Regions from separate parts of the Homo sapiens genome. Here region 2 is linked to region 1. Evidence: promoter capture Hi-C in 16 types of primary human blood cells and fetal thymus (Javierre and others, 2016). All regions are on one chromosome and are shown on one strand. Each heading gives the region's core, a stretch centred on a gene start or on the middle of the fragment in contact. The rest is flanking DNA. Distances are from core to core; before and after follow the strand shown. Region 1 holds the start of ICA1L (islet cell autoantigen 1 like). Region 2 overlaps BMPR2 (bone morphogenetic protein receptor type 2).

Region 1 (2,613 bases), core at 37-2,536:
ACAAATACTAAACGATTTAAAATTTTGGTCACATAAAAATACATACATACCATTCGGAGATGTTTACTCGGCCAGTAAATGTATAATTAACTCCTACTAAAGGATGAGGCACCTGTGGCTATTCCATAAATACTGATGTGAAGATGATTAAAGTAATATCGTCTTACAGTACGTCGCCTGAGTCAGAACCAAATAAATCAATACATAAATACTTTTGGGAAAAATCAAAACCATGGAAAAATGTTACCTTCCCAACAATCTATTTTACAGAGACCCATAGTTTATAACAGCTTTTATGCTGTGTGCATCAAGATCATCTATTACACGAAAAATGATTCCACCCCCTCTACTGGCAACGCCCCAGCATCGCGGGTGAGCTGCCAGGATGGACTCCCCGCTTTCCCCTCTCCGTCTTCCTTAGAGCATCAGGTATCTGACCACTGACATCACCTGGGCACCTGACCAGCTGACGCGCGTTTCCAGGAGCCATATCTGTGCCGTGGGGTCGGGTTGCCGGCCTAAGGAGCAGGATCTGTGCGCGGAGCCCCTCGCGGGCCCGTGCATTCTGCAGTTCAGCTCAAACTGCACATTTACTATGTTTTGTTTTTATCCATCGGTTGCCAATTAGTTTCTAAGGAAGACATTCCCATTACAAAATAATAGCGAAATAAAAATAAGCACCACGTTAAAAAGAGGTCAGCAGGGAAGCACCTGAAGGCTGTTCGGGTGATCCGCCGCCGCCTCTATTAGGAGCGACCTCCACCGCCGAGGGAAATCACCCAAACGAGCCCCAGGCTGCCGCGCTCCTTCACTACAGCGAGCGTGGCCGGGAGGCGCCCTTCCGCCGCAGGGGACCCAGCCACGCCAGAAACCGCTCCTTGCGGGTTTTGCCTGGGGGGAGGCCGGAAGAACCCCGAGCAGGGCCTCGCCTGGAAGAAGGCCGCAGGCAGCGGCCGGGGTCCCCCAGAGAACCGAGGAGGCCAGCAAGGCCCCGAGAAGCCGCGCGCGCGCGCGTGTGGCCGGAGCCTCCCGCCGCGCCCCCGCCTCCCGGCGTCGCCATGGGAACCCGGGATTTGGTCTCCGGGCCTGACCGCCGCCTGAGGGGGAATAGGGGCGGACAGGAGGCAGCAGAAGCTTACCGGCGCCGCTCTTCCGCCTCCTCGGGTCGCGTTCGGCCGTACGGTGATCCGTCCCGGCACCCGTTCCGGCCACCGCCCGCGAGCCCCGCGCCGACTCCCGGCCCTCCGGCAGCCAGTGCCCCTCCGCACCAGTGCGTGGAGGTGTCAGGCTCCCGCTGCGGGAGGCGGGAGATTTAAACCGCGCGACCTGGCGTCCGCGTTCGCCCCCCTCGGGCGCCGGCCTGACCCCGCCACCGGCCCGACTCGGGATCGGAGCATCTCTCGGTCTGCTCTTGAATGAACTCGGGGACCCTCTCTATTCCTCCTTTCCCGATTTCCTCTTTACTTAATAAAGTGAAATGACAAACACCAAACCGGTCAGAACATTACGAGGAGCTGAGTGTGAGCTCTCTGAGGCGTGGGGAAGTGGAAGGCATTGGCCCGGGGCCCTCCCGGCTCCCTCCGAGCACCCCCACCCCCGGACCTGCCGGGCCTTCTGGGGCGGCCCCTTAGCACCAGTGCTCCTTAGGCGGAAAGCGTTCGCCCGCTGTATTTAACTCCCGTGTTAAAGGTTTAAAGAGGTCTAAGTTAACAACCGTTCATAACCAATCTCAAATGCACATATCCATATCCATAATGTTTATGATGAATCTTCAAGAGTAAAAGGTAAAACCGGATCCTGAAAGTCTCAGGAAAAAAACAAAAAGGAAGGCAAAACTATTTACTACTAGTAGGAGATAATTTAATAAATTCAAACTTCATTCTTTTTAAAGGTGACTCCAAAACTTAAAAGAACTTTCCTAAAACAGCAGAATACGAATTATTAATTACAACTGCGACACATAGGCTAGCAAAGAATTAAAAGGTTAACACTCGAGGTGATAATTAAAATCTGTATGATGACAAAGATGGGGTGAGTCTAGAATTTATTTTATTTTATTTTATTTGAGACGGAGTCTCGCTCTGTCGCCCAGGCCGGAGTACAGTGGCGCGATCTCGGCTCACTGCAAGCTCCGCCTCCCGGGTTCACGCCATTCTCCTGCCTCAGCCTCCCGAATAGCTGGGACTACAGGCGCCTGCCACCACGCCTGGCTAAGTTTTTTGTATTTTTAGTAGAGTCGGGGTTTCACCGTGTTAGCCAGGATGGTCTCGATCTCCTGACCTCGTGATCCGCCCGCCTCGGCCTCCCAAAGTGCTGAGATTACAGGCATGAGCCACCGCGCCCGGCCGAGGTTCTGGAATATTAACAGTACAAAATACTCACCTTAACCTGGAAATTATACTTTTAGAATAGGAAAAGTGGCAAGCTACAGAGGGTTAATTTGGACTGAAAACATTAAATGTCTTTAGACTTTTACCCTGAGATATTTGGATTTCAAGGAATAGGCAAATACCTGAGATTATGTGCAAAATTTTGTTTGTTTTTTTGAGGAGTCTACAGCTTTCCTCAGAAGGGTAAAAATTAGCGTTTGGCAAACATGAGTGATTGACCTAT
Region 2 (2,613 bases), core at 84-2,583, 310 kb before region 1:
GAGGCAGAGACAGGAGAATCGTTTGCACCCGGGAGGCGGAGGTTGTTGCAGTGAGCCGAGATCGCGCCAATGCACTCCAGCCTGGGCTACAGAGTGAGACTCCATCTCAAAAAAAAACAAAAAAAATCACCTCATAGTTTATGTCTGACTTACTCCAAACCTCAGTTATCTGATTTGTAGTCTGTGTCAGGAAAGTTTTCTTCATATCTATTCTGTCTCCCTCCTCTTTGATTTTAAATTTTTTTCTTTTACCCAGTAGGACAAAAAAGAGCAGTTGGTCATCATCCCCAATATTCTTAGTCTTCAGTATGCTTCAGGCCTCTCAATGAACACTTAAGTCTCAATTCTTCAGACAAAATTGCTTAAGCTCTTCTCCTCAGTCCTATTTTAATGACTTTATATTTAAGAATATAGAATTATATTTTCTTTTATATTCAAATTCATTACTCCAGTTAAGTAATAGTTTGATAGTTTGATAGAATCGAGAGTTAAGATGTTTCTATTTGAAAGTGGATTCAACCATCAGACCACCAGCAAATCGGCACTTAATTTTTGTGTTATCTAACATTTTCTATTGTGGAATTTTATGATTTTATATTCTCATTAGTTATAACTAAAAAGCCATGCACACAGAATTGTATATCATTTTGCCATTAAAATTTTTTAACATATTGCAGCAAGCTTAGTTTTATGATTGAGCCACAACCTTTTACATATTTTTTGTATGAAATATTAAACACTAAATGCAAGATTAACTTTCAAAAGCAAACCCTACATTAATCAGGTATTATCTATGGACATTTTTGTAGACCACTTTTGAAATACTTATTATTTTGCAACATAGACTGGACTATACAACTTTCATTTAACTTTTAGGTGACTGATTTAAGTTGAGTGTGCATATAGAGAAAAACCTAGAAATTTATCTCATGGCAGATACATTTGAAAGTACTTCAGAAGAATTTATGCTGTATATTAAAACTAGGCTCAAAATAAATCTATCGTATCTTTAAAAGTCCAATTCTGTTATTACTGTGATGTTTGTAGTGTTACTATTAAACATTGTGAACATACACATTTTTAAAACAACTTGAAACCCATTTTAAAATCTGGGTAAGAGAGAAGGAATCTTCAGAACAAAATCACATCATTAGGGTGTCCAGTTTATGATTGAATTTTTAAGCAAATTACTGTATTTGAAACTACAACTTGATTTGGTTTTCAGTTTTAAAAGGCAACATGTGGGTTTTATCCATTTTATTTATACCTTTAGATTTCAGAAACATCTTCATGTTTTAGATGCATTCTACAGACATCATGTTACTTAAAAACTCAGGGCCCCTTTCATCCCTTTGTACACTGAAAAAGTTCAATTGTTAGCAAGTAAGCAATTAGATCCAGTTGAATATTTAAAGTGTTTGTTGCACAGTTCATTTAATGTTTCATCTTATTTGACTTTTTCACATAGATATAATATCAGATTTCATTAATTATAAAAAGTTGCCCAGTTCTGTAATTACTGAACAGAGGGAATGACTCAACTAATTGGCTACATGTTGCAACAAATTTAGGCCTTTAGAGTTGAAGCACTGACTTAAAACGACTTACATTTCTGTTCTTTGGTCAAATGACCATACATGATATGGGACAAATTGTTTCATTTTGTTTGTTTTTTAATAAGGGAACTTGGTAAAGTAGTTCCTGTCAGATAGGATTTTCTCAAGAGACAATTTAACGTTATAAAGCCTTCTAAAAGTGAACTAAATATTTTATAACTTTAGTAATAGCTTGGATGGTTTTGAGAAAATAACCTGTATTTATCACATTGTCAAACAGAATTTTTCTTTGAATCAGACAAGTTCAAGCTCTAAATTGATGTGCTATATACTTAAAATCCTAGGAAGTTATCTGTAACCAGTCTCTTGTCTCAGGCTCTTCACCTTGTTACCAATCCTCGTAAGTATGTAAAGGAAACATATTTTTAAAGAAGCTTAACAGTAAGAAAAAATTACTAAAAGATGCAATTCAAAGATAGGTCCCAGTTTAACACTGAATTGCTTGACTTCTGTGGCTTTTCTTTTTCTGGCCACATTTATTTATTTAAGCAATTTTTGTATGCCTTGTTATTTCATTTCCATAGAGATTATATTGTATCAGTGTTTATGTAAGCTGGAATCATCCTCAGTTTTTTGCTGATAATTTTTCAAATAAAGATACATGGATAATTGTAAAATACACTAACTCTTAGGGTGTTGTAGTAGCTGAAACATGGAGATGCGTAGCTGTCATGCTTTTTCTGAATGGACAGGAGAAACATAAGCTACGGAGTATTCACTTCTGAGGATGCTTTTCCGGAAAAAGAAAGGCTAGAAAATACTCGCACTTCCTCAGAACCCTCTTTCTTGTTAACGGGTATCTTTTGTTGGTGTGTTTTGCTCTTACATTACAGATAGACTATCATATATGACTTTATGAATAATTTCAGTTATTTTGCTTTTGTATAAGCTGTCTGAAGCCTTGCTATGCTGTATAAGTTGTGTTTGATGGATCAGTGTGAGTATAAAATAAAGCAAATCACTTTTCTTTTGTATTATCTATGGATGCCACTATGAA

Evidence for each region. Contacts are between HindIII fragments. The CHiCAGO score rates a contact against its expected background, and 5 or more counts as called.
Region 2: a contact is called between a fragment that was not itself captured here and the fragment with the promoter of ICA1L in region 1, in 3 of 17 cell types (total CD4 T cells, total B cells and M0 macrophages). The highest score is 7.5, in total CD4 T cells.

What each region holds. Positions count from the first base shown.
Region 1 is chr2:202,870,480-202,873,092 of GRCh38, forward strand. It overlaps ICA1L (islet cell autoantigen 1 like), which reads right to left and starts at 1,287. Exons shown (of 13, transcript NM_001288622.3): 1 at 1,140-1,287. RefSeq lists silencers at 830-1,319, 1,360-1,409, 1,470-1,599. The HindIII fragment of the contact is 15,476 bases long and covers 1,133-2,613 here.
Region 2 is chr2:202,564,941-202,567,553 of GRCh38, forward strand. It overlaps BMPR2 (bone morphogenetic protein receptor type 2), which reads left to right. Exons shown (of 13, transcript NM_001204.7): 13 at 1-2,613. Among named protein-coding and RNA genes, the nearest start is that of FAM117B, 69 kb to the right of the region's middle. The HindIII fragment of the contact is 1,309 bases long and covers 680-1,988 here.